4 separate regions of the Homo sapiens genome follow, and regions 2, 3 and 4 are each linked to region 1. Evidence: promoter capture Hi-C in 16 types of primary human blood cells and fetal thymus (Javierre and others, 2016). All regions are on one chromosome and are shown on one strand. The core of a region is centred on a gene start or on the middle of the fragment in contact, and the rest is flanking DNA. Distances in the headings are between cores, read along the strand shown.

Region 1 (3,051 bases), core at 196-2,695:
TGAAGTCATCTGCAGCCAATTTGGCATTGTCAATCTCCACCACCAGCCTGGCATTCTCAGCCTTGCTGCATAGAGTCTGGAGATATGAAGAAGTTATTTCATTGCAAGAAAGGACATTCCACTTGTTGGAGCTCCCTAAAGCTGACAAGGGCTGACTCTGGAAGGAGGAAGTCACCCATCCTAGACCTCTGCTACTCCATGTGCATTGGAGTGTTATGGGCAGGCTCTAGGGATCAACTATGGAAAGTCCAGGGTTTCTTCCAGTGCAGTGTATCTGTGACCTGTTACTCAGGTTAGATAGCTGCATGAAAATGCAACAGGAAAGGCCTGGCATGATGAAATGAGGCTTCTTCCAATCTCCCTGTCTCCCAGGCCTACTGGGGGCCCAGGGCATTTCATTGCCAACAACATACCCCGGGATTCTCTGGTCATAAATGGTCCCTCACAGGAGCCAGCTATAACTTTGGGCCAGGCGAGAAGTGGATATGGGCCCTTGGCAAGAAAGAAACTTCTCTGACAGGCATTTTCTTCCCTGAGTTACTTATGGGAAGCCTGAACTGCACTGCACTAAATACATCAAACCCAATCCCCTGACTTTAAATAAAAGAGGAAATGAAAACTCAGAAGACTCAGAGGATTGGGCAATACCACCAAAGGTCACAGAGTTCATTCATAGACCTGATGTTCAAGCTCTGGCTCCAGTAACTGCCATCTGGGTCGCTTACCCAGCCTGAATCTCAGTGTTCTCAACTGTATAATGGGCTAATGATACCTCCCTCTTAAGGTTATTGGGAGGAGCAAATGAGGCCACAGAGATGAACATGCTTGGTGACTTCCAACATGCCCTATGGGAACAGAACTACCAATGAATGCTGGTGACACAAAGTTCCTGGGAATCCAAAGCCACTCTGAACCTCTTACCTTCTTCTGGAGCTCCTCGATGGTCCGGAAGTAGGACTGGTAGTCAGGGCACATGTAGGGGACCTGCTGCTCACACCACTCACGGATGCGGCTCTCCAGGCTGGCGTTCTCCTGCTCCAGCTGACGCACCTTCTCCAGGTAGCCGGCCAGGCGGTCGTTCAGGGATTGCATGGTCTCCTTCTCATTGCCAGTGAGGATGCCCTCCCCAAACCAGCCCCCACCCCCACTGTAGCTGGTAGCGAAGCCTCCAGCAGGGAGGCAGAGAGCAGGGAGGCAGCTGGTGGCCCTGTAGCTGCTTCTGCCCAGACCCACTGAGCAGGCAGAGAAACTTCTGGCCACAGGGGAGAGACTTGGAAGCTTGCAAGAGCTGCTGGAGTACATTGCGGACACACGAGTGGAGCCCCCACTGGCCCCTCCTGGGCTCTTGAGAGACCCAGAAGAGAAGCCGGCCTTGAGGCATTTGGAAGCCATGGCCCCTGCAACTCAGATGCAATTGATAGGTCTCTGAGGCCAGACACCCCAAAGCAGAGAAGCAGCTCCTTACCCCAGATTTATATCTCTGCCCCAGTGGGCATTGGTTGGCCTTTACAAAGTGTTTTCTCCTCATTAAAGTTAACACCACTTTCTATTAAAACCCCTCATTAACCTGTTATTTAGTTTCCTGTGAAAATTTACCAGTCTCATAAAATAGGAGCCCCATTACTATGTCAAGACTCATCTCCACCACCCCACATCACTGGGAAGACCAAGTCCCTGTCAGTTCTTCAAAGGGACCTGTCATTTGAGCCCAGACCTCAGCCTCCGCATTAAGCAAGCATGGGAGTTCAGCCACTGTCTTGACTTTCTCCAACTTTGACTTCTTTTATTGGCCTGAGGGAGTAGAGGAGGTCTCTGGGGTGCTCCCAGAAGATGGAAGGGTAAACTTGGTTGGTGCAGGAAGGCAGGGGTCTTGCAGCCAGGGAGACACAGAAGGCTCTTGAATTGGCCCAGAAAATATGGCTAAGGTGACCAATTTTCTTGGTTTCCCCAGGAATTTTCTGGCTTTAGTTCCGAAAGTTCCATATGCCAGGGAAACCTCAGTCCTCGGTAAAATGGGACAGCTTATCACCCTAGATACTGCAGAGCCCTGATGGACACTTCCCTACTCTTTCCCTTGCCAGGAAGTCTGTGCAGGTTGTAGAGCCTAAGTTCTAGCCACAATGCCTAGAGATCAGTTAATTGGACACCTGCCCATGATGACATCTAGGAGGGCATGTCTTCCCCAGCCCTGGTTGAGAAATGGAGAAGCCCTTCCTTCTGGCTGCCTGAATTGGAGCTCTTTTCACACAGCCCTATCAATAACCCGGCTGATGGTAGCAACCATCATTCACTGAGCATTTAGTACCCACCAGCCCCCACGCTGATCTGTCTCTATGCATTCTCTTATTCAGTCCTCACACAAACTCATGAGATTGGCATCACCAATAGCCCATTAAATAGAGGAGGCTTGGACTGTTTCAGGAGCCTGTCCCAGATCACAGCTGAAAAAGCATCTGTACAACTGTTCAAGGCATGCTATCTTCTTTAAGGCCTCACACACACCCTCCAACACAGTCGTGGATAGAAAGGTGCTGACTCCTACAGAAGGAGACAATGGTCAGAGTAGAAAATGGCTTACCCAAGGTCCACACAGGCTTCCCAGGGAGGCTAAAGCCCAGGCCTTGCAGCTCCAAACCACAGGCCCACCCCACTGCCTCTAAGGGCCCAGTCCTGGCCAGGCCTTCCCCCGAAGTCTGGCCCCTGCTCCAGCCCTGCTGTGCCCTCCCAGCTCTGAATGCCCAAGGCAGTGACTATTGGTAGATTTCTTGGCCTCCAATTAACTGACGTCTTCTGATTGTCTTGTGTTTCAGCCCTATTTTCCCAGGGAGACTGTAAGCATGGGGGCAAGGATTGACCTTGTACTTTTTTTTTAAATCTCTGTAGTGTTAAGCACAGTGCAGGGCTTCTAGATGTCTATGAATTAATTAATTAATTAAGTGATTTTTCCCACGGTGAATTGTGTTAAGAAAGGAAAGAAAGAATGGGAGGAAACAAAAGAGAGTAGGGAGCGGGGAAAGGAAAACACAGTCAATCTTAACTATTCCTACTTCT
Region 2 (3,051 bases), core at 552-3,051, 670 kb before region 1:
ATTTATATATAATCATTTCCTACACTCTTAGTTCCAGTGATGAATTAAATTGTGCTTCAGTTTCTTCATCTGTAAAATGGAGATAATAATAGTATATATGTCATAGAGTTCATTCCTTCAAAAACGATATTTTTGGTACCTAACCTGTGTTAGTCACTGTTCTAGTGCCTCAGGATACATGAATGGATAAAGTAGACGAAGATCAAGCGTTGTCTTTCTGGAGTGTACCGTCTAGCAGGGGAAAAGGATGACTAATAATGAATACATTGTATAGTAAGTTGGAAACAGTGCTGTGAAAAAAAGAAAAAGTGGAAAACCTAGGCAATACCATTCAGGACACAGGCATGGGCAAAGACTTCATGACTGAAAAACCAAAAGCAATGGCAACAAAAGCCAAAATTGACAAATGGGATCTAATTAAACTAAAGAGCTTCTGCACAGCAAAAGAAACTATCATCATGGTGAACAGGCAACCTACAGAAAGGGAGAAAATTTTTGCAATCTACCCATCTGACAAAGGGCTAATATCCAGAATCTACAAAGAACTTAAACAAATTTACAAGAAAAAAACAACCCCATCAAAAAGTGGACAAAGGAAATGAACAGACTTCTCAAAAGAAGACGTTTATGCAGCCAACAGACATATGAAAAAATGCTCAACATCACTGGTCATCAGAGAAATGCAAATCAAAACCACAATGAGATACCATCTCACACCAGTTAGAATGGCGGTCATTAAAAAGTCAGGAAACAACAAATGCTGGAGAGGATGTGGAGAAATAGGAACGCTTTTACACTGTTGGTGGGAGTGTAAATTAGTTCAACCATTGTGGAAGACAGTGTGGCAATTCCTCAAGGATCTAGAACTAGAAATACCATTTGACCCAGCGATCCCTTTACTGGGTATACATCCAAAGGATTATAAATGATGCTACTATAAAGACATATGCACACGTATGTTTATTGTGGCACTATTCACAATAGCAAAGTCTTGGAACCAACCTAAATGTCCAGCAATGATAGACTGGATTAAGAAACTGTGGCACATATACACCAGGGAATACTATGCAGCCATAAAAAAGGATGAGTTCATGTCCTTTTCAGGGATATGGATGAAGCTGGAAACCATCATTCTGAGCAAACTATCACGAGGACATAAAACCAAATACCACATGTTCTCACTCATAGGTGGGAGTTGAACAATGAGAACACATGGACACAGGGTGGGGAACATCACACACCTGTTGTGGGGTAGAGGGCTGGGGGAGGGATAGAATTAGGGGAAATACCTAATGTAAATGACGAGTTAATGGGCGCAGCCAACCAACATGGCACACGTATAACTACGTAACAAACCTGCACATTCTGCACATGTACCCTAGAACTTAAAGTATAATAATAATAAAAAAAGTGGAGCAGATAGGGGAGTTGGGAGATTGGCAGGTAAAATTTTAAGCGGAAAATCAGAGTGGGTCTCAAAGAAAAAGTGACAACTGTGCAAAGGCTTGAAGGAGGTAAGGAAGACCATCTTGTTAAAGAATATTAACCAAGGTAACATCAAAAGAGAAATGGAGAGACATCAAAGAATTTTGATCAAATATAATTAGACTTACAATTTGATCTAATATATTAGACTTACATTTTAAAAGGATAACTATGGTTCTGTGTTGAAAATAAACTGTAGGGTAGTAGCTAAGCTTAAATGAGTTCATATACATGTTATATGTACTGAGTCTACCTACCTATCTGTATCTATCTATCTATCTATCTATCTATCTATCTATCTAATCTATCTATCTATCCATCCACACATTTACCCACCTACCTACCTATCTATCCATCCATCATTTACTCAGAACAATGCCCGGTGTGATTTAAAGGCTATTATTATCATTATTTTCATTGTCAAGCTTAGTTTAACCACAACTACCTCATATAAGGTAGCTATCCCTTATTGTATAGGTAAGTAAACAGACTCAGAAGGGTTGAAGTAACTTGTCCAAAGGTACATAATTTGTAAATGCCAGTGCCAGGATAGGAAGTCCAGGGATCACTGTGTTTCAGTTGCATGCTCATAAACCATGAATAAGCTCTTTCCCTAATTCCCATTCTCAAAATGCAATATAGATGAGAAATATTAGATGCATCCTATTTAACCTTAATCGAGTTACTTCCCTGATAAAGATGACCCTAACAAAGCTATTTCTTCACTCCCAAGCAAAATATCAAGCCATCATGGGCACCAAGATTAGGGTGCAAAGCTTTTAGGCCTTTAGCATCATAAGAGAACATCTTTGGGGAAACAGGATTTTATCGTGTAATATTTTTTGACATGGGTGCCGAATTGGCTCTGCCAATCTAATTAGGCACTACCCTGCTTAAATAGCAGGATTCTGTAATGACTTTAGAATCTGTAAGAATGCATACAGAATTTTTTGATTAATAGGTACATGCAAATTTATTTGGTAAAAATAGTGCCCTGTGCTATTTAATAATTTTTAAAAATAATTCTGTAATTTTTTTTACTATAAATACCAATGTCCTTATTAAAGACAAGTGGCTTATTTAGACAGATTATCTTTATTAAACCATAGTGTTGGGCACTGCGGCATGTGCCTATAATCCCAGCTACTCAGAGACTGAGGTGGGAGGATTGCTTGAGCCCAGTTCAAGACTAGCATGGGCAACACAGTGAGACTTTGTCTCATTAAAAAAAAAAAAAAAAAAGCAAAAACAAACCATAGTTATCCAAGTCCAATCAAGAAAGCAGCTGTTTATCTGAGATAAAGTATTTACTTTATCAGAGAGAATATAAATAATTGTTTAAGGAGGTATTGCAAGATTGAAATGGTAAGAAGACAGGACCACGATGTATGCAGACTTTTCAGGAATGAAAGTTTGGGTCACCATCCAACCACATAGAGGACTCTGACTGCTAAGATTGTGGCCTGGGGGAGGAGGGCAGAATGGGTAGAAGAGACAAACTTAACAGCAAGCACTGCTATCTCATAGTAACATATGTGTACTTGCCTCGTATCAGTGGTATTGAAT
Region 3 (3,051 bases), core at 355-2,854, 530 kb before region 1:
GGAGGTGGAGGTTGCAGTGAGCCAAGATCGCGTCACTGCACTCCAGCCTGGGTGACAGAGCAAGACTCCGTCTCAAAAAAAAAAAAAAAAAGGTGGAAGAGGGAAGTAGAAGATTCAGTCAGTGTTGGCGAAGGAGATGTGATGAAGGCAGAGTTAAGGGTGACGAGATGGCTGATGGTGAAGATGGAAATGGTGGACAAGCCCAGGAATGTGAGCAGCCTCTGAAAGCTGGAAAAGTTTGGCAATAAAACAAATCCCCCCCAGGACCTCCAACACTTTGATTTTAGTACACTGAGTCCCAAGTCAGATTTCTGAAATAGAGAACAGTAAGATAGTACATTCGTGTTTTGTGTTATTTTGAGCCATGAAATGCATGTCACTTTGTTACAGTGGCAGTAGAACATCGTAGTGTCTGTGTGTTTGTGGGGGAAACATCCAGTAGGAACTCTGGTGATGGATTTTTGCTGAAGATTTGCCAGGTCTGTCCTGCAGACCCTGGCCGAGCGTCGGATGAAGGGAGTACTGACAACACAGGCGTGCAGTGTAAGAGCAGCTAGGGGTCTGCCGGCACTTAGGGCCAAAGAAGAGAGCAGCTGCGAACAGCTGAAGCTGCTTGCTTTTATTCAGTACAGACATAATGCCGAAAGCCTGGAGCAAACACAATCTGCGGGTAATTAACATTATTGTTCCCCTTTTCAGGGAGCAGTCATGTGCACAGATTATCAAAGGTCGGTTTCTGGACAACCTAAGTAAACAAGCCTGTTTACGATAAATTCCCCTACACCTCCTTGTACCTACTCCTTGCCCTCTGCCTCAGGATCAGAGAACAGCTGCCTTCAGCTTATTCTCCCCTGAAGCTATGCAGAGCCTTCTGAACTTTCAGAAGGTTTGCATCCTTTCCCTATAGTTTCTCCCACCACTCTGACCAATCTCCTACAAAGATTAAATCAAGGTGAATAGAATGTGTTTTCCATGTGATTTATAAAACATATTTTCCATACACATACTTAGTCTAGATCTTTAATTATTAGCGTAACAGCAAAGATGGTTATAGTTACTATATTTCATAAACCCTAAAAAGGCAAATTATAGGTGGATTTTTAAATTTTCAAATTAATATATATGATATACCTCAGAAAATTATAGAATTTAAATCACATTTAATTAAACATTTTACAAATAATTTTTACGGAGAAGCATAAAATTACATAAAAGGAAGGCTGTTCCTGAAGATCCACGGCACGTGGGAACCATCATTAGGGCAAATGTGAATATGTGTCTTTTATTTACAACCAAAGCCTATTTCCCTCCTGATCTCACCCTTTGTCCACAGCTCGTCTTTCATCCTTAATTATTATTTACTACATAGTCTTTGTGTCATTACTACAAAGAGACGGTGCTGTAACTGGGACGCTGGACACGGTCCCTGCAATCTTAGTCCCACTGTACATTCTGTTCCATGTAAGTGAGCTCCAAATGACCTCTTGGTTCTTCTTACTCTGCAGCCACAAAAACATATCCATTTTGCTCCTTTCTCTTTCTTATTTTGTCTATTTCTCCCAGTGCCTCTCCTGAATACACTAATATAGCATCTTCTGTTTTTTTCTGAACCCAACACGTTTGATTTCATTTCTGATTACCATCCCTCTAATTATAATTTGTAGCCTTTCTTAAAAGGGACCCTGTGGGGGTGGGGGGGGGCAGTGGGTGTGGTTGCTCACACCTGTAATCCCAGCACTTTGGGAGGCCAAGGCAGGTGGATCATCTGAGGTCAGGAGTTCGAGACCAGCCTGACCAACGTGGAGAAACTCTGTCTCTACTAAAAAAAAAAAAAAAAACCACAATTGTCTGGGCATGGTGGCGCATGCCTGTAATCCTAGCTACTTGGGAGGCCAAGGCAGGAGAATCACTTGAACCCAGGAGGTGGAGGTTGCGGTGAGCCGAGATCGTGCCATTGCACTCCAGCCTGGGCAACACGAGCAAAACTCTGTCTCAAAAAAAAAAAAAGAAAAAAAATGGAATCCTGGGGGTGGACTTTGGATATTTCATCCTATCAGCCTTGTGTCCTGTTACTCTTGGGATGGGTCAAAACCAGGAAGTCCCCTGCAGCTTTGGCAGCCCACAATTGCTGATGAAGCCACAAATTGTTGGAAACATGAATATCCGGCATTCATTGTTTTGAGCCTATGCTCGCCATGAATATGAACTAGTTAGAAATGAGACCTACACTTTCCCAATGCTTCTCCATTCAAGACCTCTTGGCTTTATATCTAGTAGAGCAGGGCTATACTGTGCCAATCTTCTAGCAATAAACTTCACACAAATCCAACAGCCTAATTGTTGTGGTTAGAATGAGAAGAGATGAAGATGCTGTTGAGTTAGGTCATCTGGTCTCCAAAGCAGAACTTCACAAGGTGATACTTTCTTGTGAAGTCACAGTGGTCTATGTCTGTTCTTAGGCTGGTGGGTTATTAGTGCACCAGAACCAAAGGGATTCTCAGGAGCTGACTCAGAGTAACCTGACTTTTAAGTGCCAGATGAAAGAGACAGAATGCAAACTTATTAATTTAACATTGAAAGATGATCCATTTTGCAACCACAGAGTTCCCAACTGCAAATCAATGCACCTTCTTTGTTGTACCTAAGAATTAGAGAAACCAAATTGTAATATGAAGGCTTTTGTCAAAAATGGAACTAGAAGAGGGATATGGGGTCTTGAGGAATGAGGTTGAAAAACTGCCTCAAGTCCACACGTGCTTAGATGGTGTTCATGAGTTCAGTGTTGCCCCTTCCTGGATTGGGCTGGACACTGTTGTGTTGTGTTTTTAGGGCTCACTTTCTCTTTTTAAAATATTTTCTTAACCACTTGAACCACCAGGGATATGGCTCACCTTCTTTAGACCTCCAAGACAAGCATTATTTCTTTAATTCTTTATAGCTTTCATTAGGCTACATGTATGACATTTTCAAACTTGAGTAATTATTTAATTGATTGGGCATTTGGAATAGAGGATTTGAGTTTGTTCAGATTTTGACTTTAACATTTACTAG
Region 4 (3,051 bases), core at 340-2,839, 510 kb before region 1:
AGTGAGACTCCATCTCAATAAATACATAAATAAATAAATAAAAAATAAAATAAAATCCATCCTAAATTTATATAAATACCATGATCCACTAGAATGTCAACTCCATGAGGGCAGGGACTTTTTAAAGGTCACCAATATTTTCCCAGAATCTAGAACAATGTTTGGCCCAATGTTGTTGCTGCTCAGTAAACATTTGTTGAATGAATAAAACTGAATAAATCCAGATATGTAGTAGCAGAATACGTCTGTGCATAACAAACTTAGGTTTGGTGTAGAAACAAACCAAGCAATGTGGAGATGATAACATAAGCATAAAAGGAGAAAAAGGTGGTGATGGTTGAAAAATGGATAAAAACTAAATTGCTTAGAAACTCATTAAAGCAAAATTTATTTTCTCTGATCTCTGTTTCCCTATTTTTATTTAAAAAATGGCAACAACTTGCTGTTAACATCTTTTGGTCCTGAGTCATCTAGTTATAATGGTAGAGTGTATTTCTGGAGAAAGGAAACACCATGAGACTCTTCTTTTTGTTTCTGATTTTTAAAGACATAGTCTCACTTTTGTCTGGGCTGGAGTGCAGTGGCAGGATCTTGGCTCATGGCAGCCTCAACCTCTTGGGCTCAAGTGATCCTCCCACCTCAGCCTCCCAAGTAGCTGGGACCACAGGCATGTGCCACCACGCCCATCTAATTTTTTTTTGTGTGTGTATGTGTGTGTGTGTGTGTGTGTGTGTAAGGATGGAATTTCATCATGTTGCCCAGGATGGTCTAGAACTCCTGGGCTCAAGTGATCTGTCTGCCTCAGCCTCCCAAAGTGTTAGGATTACAGGTGTGCATCACTGCGCCTGACCAGAAATACTATCAGACTCTGAATGCTGCCTCAAGATGACAATTTCACTCAAGAAATTTTTCTATTCTTCAAAAAAATTTTCAGCATCAACTGAACAAAAAATATTAAAGTTTAGCAAATAACTGTTGCTTGGAAACCATTAATTCACAACACGATTAAACAGGTTCTTAGGAATCTTACCTTCTGCTGGAGCTCCTCAATGGTAGTGTAGTAAGACAGGTAATCAGGACATAGAACAGGGAGCTCTTTGTTACTTTCTTCCTGGATTTTAGATTCCAGTTCAGCATTCTCTCGTTCTAGCATTCGCACCTTTTGCAGGTAGTTAGCAAGGCGCTCGTTCAAGATTTGCATGGTCTCCTTCTCATTACTGTTGATGCCTTCACCATACCAGCTGCAGTCATCCAGAGAAAAACGGGCATTGAAGTTGTTCATTAGGTAGATGGGCTTGCGACAAAAGCGAGGAGTGGGTTGGCAGCCCTGGTCCCAGGGAATTCTGAGAACGTGGCCAGCTGGTTGACAGTTGTTGACTGTAAGGCCACCAGGATGGCAGCCGTTGTTAGAAGAGATGGTACTAACATTTGTAATCCTAGAGCAGTTTTGACATGGGGTTGAAGGAGAATTGGTTGTTGTACAGCCCTTGGTGTCCATAGTATGTGTCTGGCTTTAGTTTGTTCCAGGTCTGTGGTCACCAGGATGAAAAGCTCAAGCCACCTCCACAGAGTCTGAATTCCAAGGCTCTTGGTGTTTTCCTCTTTGAAGTGCTTATATAGCCTCTCTTCTACGTGGTGTCACACAGGTGGGATGTTTTCCTTTCTCAGGTTTATATCAAATCCTGTAGGAACATCTTATTAGTCTGCTTTTTACTTGCTTAAGAAGAGTTATTTGTCTCATAAACATGTGCATTTAGGCTGTTAGTAAGTTATTACCCATCATAACTACTACTTGTCTATTGGACCCAGAGCTTCAAATTATGTCTTCAAAAGGAACTGTCCTAACAGCATCCATTATTAAGCAGGTGTGAGTATACTAAGTTCATTACATTCTTGTTGACCTCTCCACTTGGCACTGAGCTTAACCAGGAATGAGTTCATCCTTCTTTTCCTTTCTTCTCTAGAAAAGGGAAACTATTAATGTTTAATAATTATTGGTAAACTTAGAAATCAGAAGTCAATATTTTAGTTTGTTCTGCCCAAATGGTTTCCCCATTTTCAGTGTCAGGACAATGTGAGTATGAATTAAAATGTTAGTCTTTTAAAAGTCTTGTTTTAAAGATAATTGCTAGATTTATGTTTTAGCTTTCCATAAAATGTAATAACATAAAATAAAATATAAATAAAATATGAAATAAAATAAAAGCCATGGGGAAAAGGTAGGGTTTGATTGCTAATAAGAAATTTCTTGGAAAAGAGACTAGCTCTCTTTTGGTTTTCCAAAGTCCACATTTTATAACATTTTTAGTGCTTGGTGTTTGCTTGTGGTATTACATTAGATAAAAATGTATCACAGTGTTGGTTTATACTGGATGTTTAAATAGGATTCATTGAAAGGGGTGTGTTTTCTTTCTGAGGAATACTTACTCAGCATTTTCTTCAGAAAGTTACTTGCTGCTAATCCTTTATGGAGGCTCTAGGGGAACATCATTTTCTTGCCTTTTCCAGCTTCTACAGGCTGTCCACATCCTCAGCTAGTGGCCCCTTTTCATCCTTTTTTTTTTTTCTTGAATTATGAGATTTTTTGTACTTTGAGTTCTGGGATACATGTGCAGAACGTGCAGGTTTGCTACATAGGTATACAAGTGCCATGGTGGTTTGCTGTACCCATCAACCTGTCATCTACATTAGGTATTTCTCCTAATGCTATCCCACCCCTAGCCCCTCACCCCCTCACAGTCCCCGGTGTGATGTTCCCCTCCCTGTGTCCATGTGTGCTCATTGTTCAACTCCCACTTATGAGTGAGAACATGCAGTGTTTGGTTTTCTGTTCCTGTGTGAGTTTGCTGAGAATGATGGTTTCCAGCTTTATTCATGTCCCTGCAAAGGACATGAACTAATCCTTTATTATGGCTGTATAGTATTCCATGGTGTATATGTGCCACATTTTCTTTATCCAGTCCATCATTGATGGGCATTTGGGTTGGTTCCATGTCTTTGCTATTGTGAATAGTGCTGCAATAAACATACATGTGCATGTGTCTTTATAGT

The links. The method cuts DNA at HindIII sites, captures the fragments that hold promoters and counts their contacts. A CHiCAGO score of 5 or more calls a contact.
Region 2: a contact is called between a fragment that was not itself captured here and the fragment with the promoter of KRT35 in region 1, in 1 of 17 cell types (M2 macrophages). The highest score is 5.5, in M2 macrophages.
Region 3: a contact is called between a fragment that was not itself captured here and the fragment with the promoter of KRT35 in region 1, in 5 of 17 cell types (M1 macrophages, total CD8 T cells, non-activated CD4 T cells and 2 more). The highest score is 9.1, in M1 macrophages.
Region 4: the fragment with the promoter of KRT39 here is called in contact with the fragment with the promoter of KRT35 in region 1 in 2 of 17 cell types (naive CD8 T cells and non-activated CD4 T cells); the score reaches 9.0 in naive CD8 T cells.

Annotation. Positions count from the first base shown.
Region 1 is chr17:41,479,706-41,482,756 of GRCh38, forward strand. It overlaps KRT35 (keratin 35), which reads right to left and starts at 1,446. Exons shown (of 7, transcript NM_002280.6): 1 at 922-1,446; 2 at 1-76. The coding sequence starts at 1,392. The HindIII fragment of the contact is 10,492 bases long and covers 1,277-3,051 here.
Region 2 is chr17:40,813,783-40,816,833 of GRCh38, forward strand. LOC105371776 (a long non-coding RNA gene) reads left to right here. Exons shown (of 4, transcript XR_934753.2): 4 at 166-346. Among named protein-coding and RNA genes, the nearest start is that of KRT10-AS1, 3.8 kb to the right of the region's middle. The HindIII fragment of the contact is 213 bases long and covers 1,696-1,908 here.
Region 3 is chr17:40,948,957-40,952,007 of GRCh38, forward strand. The region is part of intron 1 of LOC107985072 (a long non-coding RNA gene); the gene reads left to right. Among named protein-coding and RNA genes, the nearest start is that of KRT23, 13 kb to the left of the region's middle. The HindIII fragment of the contact is 4,385 bases long and covers 1-3,051 here.
Region 4 is chr17:40,965,359-40,968,409 of GRCh38, forward strand. It overlaps KRT39 (keratin 39), which reads right to left and starts at 1,590. Exons shown (of 7, transcript NM_213656.4): 1 at 1,031-1,590. The coding sequence starts at 1,498. The region is part of intron 1 of LOC107985072 (a long non-coding RNA gene); the gene reads left to right. The HindIII fragment of the contact is 5,044 bases long and covers 1-3,051 here.